2 separate regions of the Homo sapiens genome follow, and region 2 is linked to region 1. The links are contacts of gene promoters, found by promoter capture Hi-C in human tissues and cell types (Jung and others, 2019). All regions are on one chromosome and are shown on one strand. Each heading gives the region's core, a stretch centred on a gene start or on the middle of the fragment in contact. The rest is flanking DNA. Distances are from core to core; before and after follow the strand shown.

What was found. Contacts are between HindIII fragments. The study calls those that stand out against the background at their distance.
Region 2: a fragment that was not itself captured here is called in contact with the fragment with the promoter of CAPN15 in region 1 in 2 of the 25 tissues and cell types used here (lymphoblastoid cells and pancreas).

What each region holds. Positions count from the first base shown.
Region 1 is chr16:524,760-532,604 of GRCh38, reverse strand. It overlaps CAPN15 (calpain 15), which reads right to left and starts at 4,893. Exons shown (of 14, transcript NM_005632.3): 1 at 4,576-4,893. It overlaps LINC00235 (long intergenic non-protein coding RNA 235), which reads left to right and starts at 5,198. Exons shown (of 1, transcript NR_024121.1): 1 at 5,198-5,758. RefSeq lists an enhancer at 5,773-6,334. The HindIII fragment of the contact is 8,144 bases long and covers 1-5,918 here.
Region 2 is chr16:240,243-248,087 of GRCh38, reverse strand. All of the region lies in intron 1 of FAM234A (family with sequence similarity 234 member A), which reads right to left. Among named protein-coding and RNA genes, the nearest start is that of FAM234A, 9.3 kb to the right of the region's middle. The HindIII fragment of the contact is 7,678 bases long and covers 1-7,534 here.

The sequences.
Region 1 (7,845 bases), core at 3,644-6,143:
TGCTGGGATTACAGGCGTGAGCCACAGCGGCTGGCTTTTTTTTTTTTTTTGAGACAGGGTATCACTCTGTCACCTAGGCTGGAGTGCAGTGGTGCCATCTCGACTCACTGCAACCTCTGCCTCCCGGGTTCAAGCAATTCTAGTGTCTCAGCCTCCCAAACATCTGGGATTACAGGCACACACCACCACGCCCAGCTAATTTTTGTATTTTTAGTAGAGATGGGGGTTTCGTCACGTTGGCCATGCTGGTCTCTACCTCCTGACCTCATGTGATTCACCCACCTTGGCCTTCCAAAGTGCTAGGATTACACGCATGAGCCACTGAGCCCAACCGAATTCTACTTTTTTTTCTTTTTTTTTTTTTTGAGACGGAGTATAGCTCTGTCGCCTAGGCTGGAGTGCAGTGGTGCCATCCCGGCTAACTGCAACCTCCGCCTCCCAGGTTCAAGCAATTCTACAGTCTCAGCCTCCTGAGTATCTGGGATTACAGGCACACACCACCACACCCAGCTAATTTTTTTATTTTTAGTAGAGATGGGGTTTCGCCATTTTGGTCAGGCTGGTCTCGAACTCCTGACCTCAGGCAACCCACCTGCCTCGGCCTCTGAAAGGGCTGGGATTACAGGTGTCAGCCACCGCACCCAGCCCCGACTTCTATTTTTAACAGGAAAAAAGGACCAGACAAGCACTCGTGGTTTTTGGCACTTCTCTACTTCTCTGCTTGCCATGTGGTGGCAGAAGCAGCCCTGGTCTGGGCAGCCCGGTGACCTCACTGGTGGCCAAGCAGAAGCCTCTGGGACACAGGGGGCACCTGTCACCCCAGAGAAGGGGACGGGGGCCTTGGGAGCCGTGTGGCCCTGGGCACCTGTCATCCCAGAGAAGGAGACGGAGGCCTTGGGAGCCGTGTGGCCCTGGGGGCACCTGTCACCCCAGAGAGGGAGACGGAGGCCTTGGGAGCCGTGTGGCCCTGGGGGCACCTGTCACCCCAGAGAAGGAGACGGGGGCCTTGGGAGCCGTGTGGCCCTAACCCAGAGGAGGCCTCGTGGCACCTCTTTCCCCATCAGCTCCAGCCTCTCTGCAGCCACCTTTTCAGGAGGGGCAGGAACTCCAGAAAGCTCCAAAACTTATTGCCTTTCTCATTACAGGGGACAGGGAGGTGGGGGGTAGGGAGTGGGGATCAGGCAGGGGCAGAAGGTGTAAGAGGTTCAACCTGCCTGGGGGACTTCACTTACAAAGGGCAGAGGCTGGGTGTGGTGGCGCCCACCTGTAGTCCCAGTATTTGGGAGGCTGAGGCAGGAAGATCACTTGAGCCCAGGAGTTTGAGGCTGCAGCGAGCTATGATTGCAACTGCACTCCAGCGTGGGCAACAGAGCACGACCCTGGCTCAAAAAAATAAAACTTAAAAAATGTTAAAATAAAGGGCAACTTTTTGAAGAGAAGTGAGGGGAAGGCCATGAGGAGGAACTCCCTCATTAGCGGAGCAAGCTCCTTCCACAGAGGAGCAGACGCTGCAGTCACTGTGACATTTAAAAAGCAGCGATGGCCCTGCGTCCTCCTGACATCCCGTCTAGGACCGCCAGGGAGGCGGGGATGGCAACCCTTGAAGCTTCCCTTTGACCTCAGGGAATCTGACAAATCGTTGTATCTGGAGGCCAGGATGGCGAGGCTGATGCCCATGACCCGACGGGACTCATGGGTCCACCCTGGTGCCCTGGATGAGTTCTGGGGAGGGCGGCCACACTGCTGGCTTCCCATGCAGCACTCAGGCAGGCCCCTCAGAGTGTGCAAAGCAACAGCCTGACGCAGCTCATCTTGGGGGGCCCACGGGGTCCCTGCCCTGGGCTAGGATGCCCCCATCCTCCCACAGACCCCATTCCGTGCACCCTGTGGGCCCAGCAGCAGCCCCTGTCCTAGTGGTACAATGTGGCTGTCCACAGACTCCACGCCCAGACACCTCCCTGGGCCACGCACCGGGAGGTCTCCACCCAGCTGTGTGTGACCCACATAGTGACAGGGTGTGGCTGAACGGGTCTAGGTCCAGCCCCAACCCACAGCCTCCCTGCAGCGAGACACACATGCAAAGATCACAGGCCAGCAAGCCTGTTCTCTCAGACTCAGAAACAGGCCGAGCTCAGGTGTGGCCGTGTCCACGCCACAGGGGCTGCTGTGCTACTTTCCTGGAGCACGCAGGAGTCCCCCTGGGCTGCCAGAACCCAGGTATTCAGAACTGCCTGTGGTGAGGGCCAACCCCAGGTGCTCACTGACCGCCTGCTCTGCGCACGGCTGCATAGCGCTAGACACTAGGCCTACCAAGAAACAGAAACGGACCCTGCCCTCGGCGCCACATCCAGCAGGGAGACAGGGCGGTCCCAAGTGTAAGTGCTGCAGGCAGATCCCACAGTGGGGAGCCAGGGACCAGCTACAGGGTCACATGAGAACCGCACAGACCTCAGCGTTCTCTCCAGCGTGGGGCATGAGAGGCCAGTGGCTCCACACAGCTGAGGCACAGCCTGGTGGTGAGAAAACCCACATCCACACCGAGTGGGTACGAGGGATGCGGAAGGGCTTTAGGCAGAGAACAAGTCCCACTGGGCTTCTGGGCACTCCTGCTGTGCCAGGGGTCAGAGGGCAGGACCAGAGGGACAGAGCAGGAAAACAGGAGAGCAAAGCGCACGAGGCAGCCCCCGGGTTGGGGGCCTCCTTCTTCTGTGTCTTATGAGGAAACCACCCAAGCCCACCCTCCGTGTCTCCTGTCATTTCAGCCTCACGGTCCAGGGCCGAGTGGCCACCCAGGACAGACACAGACCTGACAAGTCACCAGCCTTCCTGGGTTTCTGTCACTGTTTTTCAAAGACCCCAAGCTGTTTTGTTTAATGATGTCGTCCTCCTTCTCAGCACCTGTCCACGCCTGTTGCCATGAGTAGAGGCATCACACCGCGGGCCAGAGGGCTGGACCAGGGGCAACTCGGCCACCAACGGCCGAGTTCTTCACTGAGCGGCTCAGGCCCATGAACAACACCTGTGGTTCCGGAGGATTTTCCGGGCAGCAGAATCCTTCCCTCCAATTGCCTCGTGTGAACTGGTGGAACCAGCAGGAGGGAGAGACCAGGCGCTCAGCCTCCCTCGGCCCCTCCCCTGCCATGAACAGCTGTCTCCAGCTTCGGTTCCTCACCTGTGGCACTGGGGTTACCGGAGTGCTGCCCAAGGCCAGGGCAAGAAGCAAGTGAGGGGTGCCCGGAGAGAGAGCCAGCAGGGCTTGAGGCTGTCACACAGATGCAGCATTACAGGGGACCAGCCACTTCCTGCTCTCAGAGACCACGGTCTGTGGAGGCCCAGACAAGAGGCCCTGCGCAGTTATGCAGTTACTGAGCCTCGGGCTCTCCTGGGGACTCAGAGGTCACTGGCTCCTCTGCCAATCAAGGAGCTCTGGAGAGCCTCAGACACAGACAGAAGCAGGAAAAAGAGGGGTGCTCCTCCCGCAAGCAGAAGGACCTCGGAGGAGGCAAGGCACACCCAACCCAAGGCCAGGCCAAGCTGGTTTCCTGCAGGACCTGCCTCCCCCAGACAGGCCAGAAAAACAATTTCTCTTGCCCCACTTCACAGTTGAGAAGTCACTCAGAACCGGAAGGGAGAATCACCCCTATATCCTTGCCCAGCCCCAGACTCTGGAAACGCGGAGGCAATTACGGGGCACTCCCACACTGAACTGTGACTCACGTTTCCGCACCCCTCAGACCTGGGCAGAGGAAGAGATCCGGGTTTCCCGAAGGAGAAGCACACAACTCTTCAGCACCCAACGGAGTCCCAGTCTTCCCCACTGGCCCCACACACCCAGGCCTGGCCTCAGGTTCTGGGCCTCACCATTGCTTTCCGGGTCTTGTTACCTGCAGTCCGGTAACAAACTCCAGAGCAGTAAGGGGGCCCCGAGAGCTCGCCCGGCCAGGGCCAGCTGACCACACAAGAGTTCCCCCGGTCAGGACTAGAGGGGCCCCTTCTGCAGCCAGCGGGAGGACAGCAGATTTGCAACTTCCCAGCTGGTGCCGCAGCAGCCCCAGAGGAACACGGAAGAGAACACTGGCATGGCTGGCACAGACGGGGCTCCCGCCAGCCCCTCCACGCCAGGTGGCCGCCCCCAGGCCGTTCCCCAAGTGAGGGGAGTGATGCCCGCACCAAGCACAACATCCCTAAGGCGGCCAGGACCGCACGATGGGCCCGGATATAAGGGCACTCAAGGGCAGGCAGGGCCGAGGCCGCCTCCGGTGTGCGCGGCCCCCGGGGCTGGCCTCAAGTGACCCACATGGCCCAGGTCCCTGCCGACTTCCCGCCTTCCTCTGGGTTCCTCTGCGAAGCATCGCCCAGCCCTGGCCCCCACCAGCCTGGAGGCGCCAGCGGGCGGCGGGCTGACCCCACTCCGGGGGCCCTGCCGTCCCTGCCCTGGCTCGGAGCCCGGCGCGCCCGGCCCCCGAGGCCTCCTGCGCCCCGCCGAGCCCGCGCTCCCCGCCGCCCTCCGGGCCCGCGCTCCCCGCCCGGGGTCCCCGGCTGGGCGCCCGGCCGGGCCCGGCCGACGGGACTCACCTCCACAGCCCGGCGGCGCCGCCTCGTCCTCGCGGCCCGGGCAGCGCGGCCCCGGCCCCCGGGCCCGCTCGCCCCCGCCGGCCGATCCACAACTTCTGCCTCCGGAGAGCGGCGGGGCCCCTCTCGCCGCCGGCCGCGCTGCCCGGACGGCCTCCCGCTCCTCAGCCGCGGGGCGCCCCGACCCGGCTCCGGCCCCGGCCCCTGCCCGCGTCCGGCGCCCGCCTTACGCTGCCTTCGTAGCGTAGCGCCCGGCCCGGGCCCCGCGGCTACGGCGCGCCCGGGGCGCACGCGGCGCTGTGAATCGCGCGCCCGGACTACGGCTCCCACAGGGCTGCGCGGCGCCGACGGGGCGGAAGCTCGGGGCGGTGCCTGCGCGAGGCAGGCCGGGAGTTGTAGTCCTCGGGTGGCGCCCTCCCAGTCCGCCGACCGCCCGGGCCACTTCTCCTGCCCTCGCTGCTGGAGACGGCCGGGCCCGAGGCCTCGGTCCCCGGGAGGCGCCGCGCTCCAGGATTATCAGGGAGTGGGGCGGCCCGAGGAGGAGCTGGAACTACAACTCCCAGAGGGCCTTGCGAGGGGCACGGAGGGGCGGGGCCTGCAGCCGCGGCGTCTGCGCATCAGCGGCGTCACAGACGCGTGGGGCTCGCGGGGAGCCGGGCTGGGGCCGTCCGTGTCCCGCGGGGCTCTGGGCGGCCGCTCGACCGAGGACCCACGACTCCGCCCCGACCCCGCCGTGTTCGCGAGACCCGGAGACCCCTTCGCGCCTTCCAGGACCGCCCCTTTCGCGACGCTGCGTGCTGTGCTTGGTCCTGGCGGCCAAGAGCGGCGGTGGCAAGGGGACCGCCCTGGCCCGAGACGCGGCCTGGCCTCGCAGCGTCGCTTGGGCACAGCCTCTCTAGGCCCCTTCGTCCTCGGTCGCGGAGGGACGCCATTAAACGGCCACGCCGGGCTCAACTGGGACGCGGCCCACGGCGCCCAACCAGGGCCTGGGGGAGGGAAGCCGGGGCGACTCCTGGGTCCTTCCAGGACCCTTGCGCAGGCCTCATTCTCTCCCCGGAGGTCCCCTTCCCGCTGCCCTGAGGCCACTCTCCTGCCAGCAGCTGCTGGGCCGGCTCTCGGGAGAATGCCTTGGCGTCAAGCTTATCAGGCTGCAGGGCGGGACGCGAGTGCTGAGGGCAGCCAGACTCCCGCTCTTAGGTGCACTTGAGGAGCCTGAGAAGGCAGTGGCTCTGCGGGAGAGGGAGACACAGGAGCAGGGCTGGTCCGCCGAGATTCCGGAGAGACGGTTGTGGGCCGATTCTGTGGCGAGATTTACAAGTGGGAGGTTGGGTGACGATTGCTCCTGGGCCAGAAAATCTAAGCCAGTCTCAGCAAGACCTACAAGGCCAGGGCCAGTGCTCCTCAGAGGATATTCATGCTCCAGGAAAGCCAAGGATGGGCCTCCGTCATGCTGAGATGCCGCAGCAGGGACACCTGTGTCCCACGTGGAGCTCGGCTTCTAGCTGCAGTCAGTGCAGAAGCTGGCAGGAGGGGTTTATTTCTGTCCTCGGAAGCTTTTGGTAAGGACACTTCATTCCTGTGTCTTGGACACCTCCCCCTAGGTCTGCTGCCCCCTCTGTGGAGACAGGCAGGGCAGCTGGATGTGCCGTTTGTTCCCAGACTATATCCATGCCAAAGCATCCCAAGGGCAGGAAATGTGTCCCCGGGGGCCAGTGGGGGTCTGGGGGCACAGAGGGCTGCAGAGTGAGAGCTGGCTCTCCTCTCTGCAACTTGGACAAGGCTCTGGGACCCTGTCCTCCCCAGCTTCCTCACCTGCATGGCAGGATACTGGCCAAGTGTGGCTTTCGAACCACAGGAGAGGGTGCAGTCAAGGCCTCACTCAGGGACCGCAGGTTCTCTTCCCTTCCCAGTCCTTCCCTGGCACTGCCTAGGTGGCTCCCTGGCCAGGGGCCAGTGGTCTAGCCAGCAGGCCTTATAACCTCCCCACCAGAGAGGCAGCTGCAGTTGAACCTGTTGATCTGATGCTGAGGGCCCTGCCAGCTCACTGCAGAGTGGCCAGTTCTGGCCAGTTTTGCTAGGCCAGGCCCATTTGGGGTGAGGAGAGGGTGGGAGCACCCCAGCTCTCCCCAGTAGCCTGTCATGGTGAAGGAGGAAGCCCATTCACCCAGAAGAGGGCCTCAGGAGGCGTCTTCAAGGTGACTGAGGTTTCCCCGCACAAGGAGAGTGCTGGAGGGAATGGGTGCGATGAGAGAAATGAGTCACTCGTGCCTCCGTGAGGCCAGCCTGTGATTGTCTTGAAGATTCTGAGTCACAAGACATCAGGCACACAGGCGTGAATTGTAAATGACTGCACAGCAGAAGGTAAGTGACTCTGGATTATCCAGACCATTGACCGAGCCCTGCTCCGTGCCAGTGCTTCCTGGCCTGAGGACACGACTCTCACATCCAGACAGACCTGAGCAGCTAACGCAAGTGCGCAGAAGCTCGCCAAGTGCCCAGAAGAGCCAAGAGGCGAGCCATGAATCCCCCCTGGAGGAGAAGAGGATGGGGAGGGCCAAACAGAAAGAACTGAAACTGGAGGCATCTGTTCAGGCACCCAGAGAAAGCCTCACGCGCACAAAGCAGCAAACAGAACAAACCCCAGTGCCATCATGGAGCCCAGACTTGAGCACACAGGGACCCTGGCGTGGAGCACGAGGGTGCCAAGGCCCGCAGGTGGCTGACTTGTGTGCTCTGGTGCCATGCTCAGATTTGATGGGATGACCCTGCAATTGCCTGCTTTGTGAGCCACACAGGCCTGGGTCAAAAAGACGACGGACCACCAGCCTGGGCAACACACAAAGCGAAACCTGTCTCCACTTAAAAGATAATTAGGGTGTGGTGGTGTGTGCTTGTGGTCCCTGCTACTTGGGAGGCAGAGGCAGGAGCATCACTTGAGCCCGGGAGGTTGAGGCTGCAGTGAGCTGGGATGGCACATGGCGCTCCAGCCTGGGTGACTGAGTCCGTCTCAAAAAAAGAATGGGCGGCCGGACAGGTGAAAATAACAATGGACGGGGCCCTGGGAGAAGTTCCCGCCTTTCTCTGGGCCACCACCTCCAGGTTACTGGACTGCCAGCAGGTAGAGGGGCCAGGGTGCCATCCGGGGGGCCGCTGAGGGGGTCCAGACTTCCTATACCTGCCCTTCAGCAGAGGCAGGCTGGGGCGGTCCTCATGTGAGGGGCTCTGCACCCACATCCGGGGGGCCGCTGAGGGGGTCCAGCCTTCCTATACCTG
Region 2 (7,845 bases), core at 2,446-4,945, 280 kb after region 1:
GTGAGGGAAGACAGAAACAGAGGCTTCAGAAGGCAAAGCCCCATTACGGGACGCAAAACAATGCAGGCAATTGACTTAACCAGATGAGCACCCACCTGAACCCAGCACTGGGCTCCACTCTGAGAGGGTTCCCAGACAGTCAGGCCCCGCAGTGCCTCCATGGGGACTCTCCCACCACTTGGGCGAACCCAGGTCAGGGTAGAAAATGGCACTGAACATTTTTGGGAGGATCATCATTTTAACTGACAAACACAGGTTTCTAAAACCGAGCCAGCCGTTGAGGCATTTATGAAAAACACAGACTGATCTAAGATCAAAAGAGTTTGTGAGAAACTGATTTAAAAATCATTAATAAGGCCAGGCGCGGTGGCTCACGCCTATAATCCCAGCCCTTTGGGAGGCCAAGGCAGGCGGAGTACCTGAGGTCAGGAGTTCGAGACCAGCCTGGCCAACATGGTGAAACCCCATCTCTACTAAAAAATACAAAAATTAGTCGGGCGTGGTGGCGGGCACCTTAATCCCAGTCACTTGGGAGTCAAGGGCAGGAGAATTGTTTGAACCTGGGAGGCAGAGGTTGCAGTCAGCCGAGATTGAGCCATCGCACTCAAGCCTGAGGGACAACAGCAAGACTTCTCTTAAAAAAAAAAAATCATTAATAAGGCTGGGAGTGTTGTCTCATGTCTATAATCCCAGCACTTTGCCAGGCCGAGGCGCATGGAAAGCTTGAGTTCAGTTCAAGACCAGCCTGGGCAACACGGTGAGACCGTTTCTAAAAAGAAAGAAAAAAAAAATCAGCCCGGTGTGGTGGCACACGCCTGTGGTCTTAGCTACCCAGGAGCTGAGGTGGGAGGGTCACTTGAAGCCAGGAAGTGGAGGCTGCAATGAGTGGTGATCACGCCACTGCCCTCCAGCCTGGTGACACAGAGTAAAGCTCTGTCTCAAAACAAAACAAAACAGAACAAAACATCGATAAAACAACAAAACCAACAATCAATCAATTAAAAAACCACCAACTGACCGGGCGTGGTGGTTTGCGCCTGTAATCCCAGCACTTTCGGAGGCCGAGGCAGGCAGATCACGAAGTCAGGAGTTCGAGACCAGCCTGAACAACATGGTGAAACCCCACCTCTGCTAAAATAAAAAAATTAGATGAGTATGGTGGCATGCGCCTATAATCCCAACTACTCAGGAGGCTGAGGCAGGAGAATCACTTGAGCCTGGGAGGCAGAGGTTGCAGTGAGCCAAGATCGTGCCACTGCACTCCAGCCTGGGCAACAGAGCAAGACCCCCATCTCAAAAAAAGAAAAAAACAAAAACAAAACAAAACAAAACAAAACACCAATCGATCGAAAAAAAAAAAACACCAGCTGGCTGGGCATGGTGGCTCACGCCTGTAATACCAGCACTTTAGGAGGCCAAAGCGGGCGGATCACAAGGTCAGGAGATTGAGACCATCCTGGCTAACACGGTGAAACCCCATCTCTACTAAAAATACAAAAAATTAGCCGGGTGTGGTGGCGGGCACCTTTAGTCCCAGCTACTCGGGAGGCTGAGGCAGGAGAATGGCGTGAACCCGGGAGGCAGAGCTTGCAGTGAGCCAAGATCGCACCACTGCACTCCAGCCTGGGCGACAGAGCAAGACTATCTCAAAAAAAAAAAAAAAAAAAAAAGCCACCACCTACTCAGGAGGCTGAGGCAGGAGAACTGCTTGAACCCAGGAGGCAGAGGTTGCGGTGAGCCGAGACTGCACCACTGTGCTCCAGCCTGGGTGAGAGTGAGACCTCGTCACAAAAAAAAAAAAAAATCCACCAATCAAGATAAACTCCAAATGAATTAAAAATGTAAACATTATTATTATTATTATTATTTTTTTGAGACAGAATCTTGCTCTGTCACCTAGGCGGGAGTACAATGGCGTGATCTTGGCTCACTGCAACCTCTGCCTCCTGGGTTCAAGCGATTCTCCTGCCTCAGCCTCCTGAGTGGCTGGGACTATAGGCACCCACCACCACACCCACCACCGCACCCAGCTAATTTTTGTATTTTTAGTAGAGACGGTTTCACCATGATGATCAGGCTGGTCTAGAACTGCTGACCTCGTGATCTGCCCACCTAAGCCTCTCAAAGTGCTGGGATTACAGGCGTGAGCCACTGCGCCTGGCCAAAAATGTAAACATTATTTTTAACAAACATTAAACTAAAAGAAAATAGAAGAGAATGTTTATGTATTGTTAGGGAAAGTCTTGAACGCATGACCCCAAAGGTGGAAATCATTAAGAAAAACACTGATGAACTAAATATATTATGAAATGTCTAACCCAAGCTTGTCCAACCCTCGGCCCAGGATGGCTTGAAGTGTGGCCTAACATAAATTCAGAAACTTTCTTAAAACATTCACAGATTTTTTTGCAATTTTTTTTTTTCAGCTCATCAGCTATCATTAGTGTTAGTGTACTTTATGTGTGGCCCAAGACAATTCTTCCAACGTGGCCCAGGGAAGCCAAAAGATTGTTGTTAGCTCCACAAAACAAACCAGGATAAATATTCTTAGGGTTTTCACAAACCCACAAAAGAAAGGCAAGGACCCCAGTGGGGAAACAGGAAACGAATTCATAACTGGGCAGTTCACTGAAGAGCACACGCCAGTGGCCGGTGCCCAGGGGAAACACACTCAGTCTCACTCATAGACACAGCAGGACCAATGACATTAACAAAAGTTAAGCATTTCATTTTATCTGATCTTGAGACAGGGTCTCACTCTGTGGCCCAGGCTGGAGGGCAGTGGTGATCTAGGCTCACTGCAACCTCCTCCTGCTGGGTTCGAGAGATTCTCCCACCTCAGCCTATAAAGTAGCTGGGACCACAGGTGTGCATCACCGCGCCGGGCAAATTTTTGTATTTTTTGTAGAGACAGAGTTTCGCCACGTTGCCCAGGCTGGTCTCAAACTCCAGGGCCCAAGTGATCTGCCTGCCTCAGCCTCCCAAAGTGTGGGCCACGCCCAGCCTAAAAGTTAAGCATTTTAAAATGTGTTGGTGAGAATATACGATAACAGGTCTGCAGTACAATAGTCGTGGGAATTTGAAATGGTAGTTATTGGTCGAGCGCGATGGCTCATGCCTGTAATCCCAGCACGTTGGGAGGCTGAGGCGGGCAGATCACCTGAGGTCGGGAGTTTGAGACCAGCCTGACCAACATGGAGAAACCCCATCTCTACTAAAAATACAAAAAAAAATTAGCCGGGCGTGGTGGTGCATGCCTGTAATCCCAGCTACTCGGGAGGCTGAGGCAGGAGAATCACTTGAACCTGGGAGGCAGAGGGTGCAGTGGCCAAGATCGTGCCATTCCACTCCAGCCTGGGCAACAAAAGCAAAATTCCGTCTCAAAAAAAAAAAAAAAAAAAAAAAGAGGTTACCATTCAGGGAAGCAGACTTCAGGGTCCAGCCCTGTGCTATTTTTACAACATTTTGTGAATCTATAAGTAGTCCAAAATAAAAAGTATAAAATAGAAAATCAAAAGAGAAAAGAAAACCGTTAGTAAGGGGGAGTGGGGTCAGAGGTTCATGTAAGTTTTAGAGGAAGAACCAGCTTCTCCACAGGCAGCTTGGTTTGTGCCTCAAAGCTACCTTAATATGAAGCTATTTTGTTCCAAAGGCAGGAGTCCTTTTAGTGTTTTGTTTATTTTTGGAAGAATATCAATAGTGGAGTTTTGTGGTAGCCTGAAGAAATACTGAAAGAAGAGCCAAACCCCTGGCATGTTACAATTCTCCATTACAAAATAATCACCAGCTTCCTCAAAACCATCCATTAAAATCATTTTCCGACCGGGCGCGGTGGCTCACGCCTGTAATCCCAGCACTTTGGGAGGCCAAGGCGGGTGGATCACAAGGTCAGGAGATCGAGACCATCCTAGCTAACACGGTGAAACCCCATCTCTACTAAAGATAGAAAAAATTAGCCGGGCGTGGTGGCGGGTGCCTGTAGTCCCAGCTACTCAGGAGGCTGAGGCAGGAGAATGGTGTGAACCTGGGAGGCGGAGGTTGCAGTGAGCCGAGATGGCACCACTGCACTCCAGCCTGGGTGACAGAGCAAGACTCCGACTCAAAAAAAAAAAAAATCATTTTCCTTTCCACTGTGGGGAAAAAACGGATATGCACAGCATTTATAACAATACTCCCCAAATACTTACCTGAGCAAATGCCAGAGTTTAAAAGGGGTCGTCTCCAAAGTCAGACAATGTGGTGACAATGAAAATGCCCCAAGGGGTGGGAACTCTTACTGCTATACAGCCTCTGCACATGCTTTCACACCGGCCTGGCCACAGAAAAGGGGTGTGTGTTTAACACGAATAAGGCCTGTCTTTGGAAAATTAAAAAGCTGGTCAGGAATTCCTTCACAGGATCTCCAGGTAAGACTTCCTTTTTGGAAACTTGACTGAGCCACCAGAAATAGGGGTAGTTATTAAAAGCCACAACGGCAAGGCAGCCAAAGCCAGGCAGTTCATGATTCAACCAGTTTGCAAATAAAGACACCATGAGACAGGTCCAAAGATTTGCTCATCAACAGCAAGAAGATACCAATGTTTTTCTCTACTGCGGTCATTAAAAATACCAGGAGCCGTAGCCAGAGCTTCAGGAACCTGACTGGCAGAGAAAATCCCCATGGACCCAGGTCAGAGAGACTTGAGCAGGGCACTGTCCTTGCTCTACTTTAGCATCCATACCATTGACCACAGAGAGTCAGGCCATGTGGCTATTTAAAAAAACAGAAAACAGAACTCAACAAGCTAATAACCAAAAATTTAACTTCATGGCCGGGCAGGGTGGTTCACGCCTATAATCCTAGTGCTTTGGGAGGCTGAGGCAGGAGGATGACTTGAGGCCAGGTGTTCGAGACCAGTCTGGGCAACATGGGGAGACCCCATCTCTACAAAAAGTAAAATAAAATTAGGTGTAGTGGCATGTGCTTGTAGTCCCAGCTACCTGGGAGGCTGAGGTGGGAGGTTAGCTTGAGCCCAAGAGGTTGAGGCTGCAGTGAGCTGTGATCATTATCACTACATTCCAGTTTGGGCAACAGAGTGAGACCTTGTTTCAAAAAAAAAAAAAAAAGTGAGGGCTCAGAAAGAAAAGAAAATTTGTCAATACAATACGTATTAATTAAGGTAAAAGACCTGACACGGGATGGGCGTGGTAGCTCACGCCTGTAATCCCAGCACTTTGGGAGGCTGAGGTGGGTGGATCGCAAGGTCAGGAGTTCGAGACCAATTTGGCCAACATGGTGAAACTCCATCTCTACTAAAAATACAAAAAATTAACCAGGCGTGGTGATGTGCATCAGTAATCCCAGCTACTCAGGAGGCTGAGGCAGGAGAATCGCTTGAACCCGGGGGGCAGAGGTTGCAGTGAGCTGAGATAGCGCCATTGCACTCCAGCCTGGACGACAGAGCGAGACTCTGTCTCAGAAAAAAAAAAAAAAAAGGAGCTGACACCAAGAATAACTTGAAGAAAGAAAGATAAACACAATACCTCATATATGGTTATTCAAACGGATTATTCCCCTGGCCTACAGAACTATCAGTAAGCCCGCGGTGACTCGTGCCTATAAACCCAGCATTTTGGGAGGCCGAGGTGGACAGATCACTGGAGGACAGGAGTTCAAGACCAGGCTGGCCAACATGGTGAAACCCCGACTCTACTAAAAATACAAAATTAGGTGGGTATGTTGGTGTCTGCCTATAGTCTCAGCTACTGGGAAGGCTGAAGCACGAGAATCACTTCAGCCTGGGAGGTAGGGGATGTGGTGAGCCAAGATCGTACTACTGCACTCCAGCCCGGGTGATAGACCAAGACTCTGTCTCAAAAAAAAGGACTATCGGTAAACCAGCTGTCCACTCTAGGCCACTGAGGCTGCCACACCTATCTGTCCTCCAGGGAGTCCACAGGCTACCCAGTCCTGAGTGGAAACTCTGATTAGGGGGAAGAACAAAACAATCCAGCAGTAGTTTGCACAGCTCATTAACATTTCGGCAGGGGTGGGGCAGGAATACCACAGTCCATGCAGAAAGGAAGTGACAGGTCTCTCCCTTTTCTCCAAGAGTTCTTTCTCTAAGAAGTTTACTGAGTCACAGAGAACAGAAAATAAAAACAAAAGTCTCATTCTAATTGCCTTTTTTTTTTTTTTTTTTGAGACGTTGTCTCGCTCTGTCGCCCAGGCTGGAGTGCAGTGGTGCAATCTTGGCTCACTGCAACCTCCGCCTCCTGGTTTCAAGCCTCAGCCTCCCCAGTAGCTGGGACTACAGGTGCCCGCCACCAAGCCCGGCTAATTTTTTGTATTTTTAGTAGAGATGGGGTTTCACTGTGTTAGCCAGGATGGTCTCGATCTGCTGACCTCGTGATCCGCCCGCCTCGGCCTCCCAAAGTGCTGGGATTACAGGCCTGAGCCACCGCGCCCGGCCTCTAATTTTTTTAATTGCAGAAATTTGATGAAAACTTTTTTTTTTTTGACACAGGGTCTTGCTCTGTTGCCCAGGCTGGAATGAAGTGGTGCAATCATGGCTCACTGCAGCCTTGAATCCCCGGGCTCAAGAGATCCTCCCGCCTCAGGCTCCCCAGTAGCTGGGAGCACAGGCATGCACCAGCTAATTTTTGTTCAGCTAATCTTTAAATTTTTTGTAGAAATGAGAGCCTCACTATGTTGCCCAGGCTCCTCTGTAACTCCTGGGTTCATGTGATCCTCCCACCTCTGCCTCCCGAAGTGCTAGAATGACAGGTGTGAACCACCGTGCCCAGCCTGAAGCAGACAGCTTTTTTTTTTTCTTTCTTTTTGTGTAGACCTCCTCTGCGGTCAAGATAAGTGTTTTAAGGCTAGGCACAGTAGCATACATTTGTAATCCCAGCAACTTCGGGAGGCTACAGCAGGAGGCAGGAAGATCACTCGAGCGCAGGAGTTCGAGACCAGCCTGGGCAACATGACAAAACCCTACCTCCACAAAAAAATACAAAAACTAGCCGGGTATGGTGGTATGTGCCTCTAGTCCCAGCTGTGCGAGAGACTGAGGTTCCCTTGAGCCTGGGAGGTGAGCGGAGATCACACCACTGCATTCCAGTCTAGGCAACAGGGCAAGACCCTGTCTCAAAAAAAAGAGAAGAAAACAGTGTTTTAAATGGATAAAATATTTAGTTAATATTTAGAGGAAAACTATGATTATAGATTAATGTTACTATCTAGTTTCACCAGTTAGAAACAGAAACTGAAAAGATTTTGTCAATGGATTAAAAATAATAAGCCCAGCTGGGTGTGGTAGCTCACAACTGTAATCTCAGCACTTTAGGAGGCCTAGGCGGCTGGATCACTTGAGGTCAGGAGTGCGAGACCAACCTGGCCAACATTGTGAAACCCCATCTCTACTAAAAGTACAAAAATTAGCCGGCGTGGTGGCACGCGCCTGTAGTCCCAGCTACTAGGGAGGCTGAGGCAGGAGTATCGCTTTAACCAAGGAGGCAGAGGTTGCAGTGAGCTGAGATCGCACCATTGTACTCCAGCCTTGGCAACAAGAGCAAGACTCTGTCTCAAAAAAAAAAAAAAAAATACACCCAGATGCAGCGGCTCAAGCCTTAAATAAGTTTGGGGTGACCCCCACTGACCCTGGTTAACCACACTCCACCCCAGAGAACTCAGTATTTTTCTTTCAAAGCACTCATCATACTTCTCTTACCTGGCAGAAAGAAAGCTATTTAAGGCCAGGAAGATGTCTGCTGTGTCCCCTGAGCCAAATGGATGAAAGAGAACTTAAAAGACAAGTAAGATAACTCACAATCAAGATCTGAATTTTCCGACAGACTTCATCA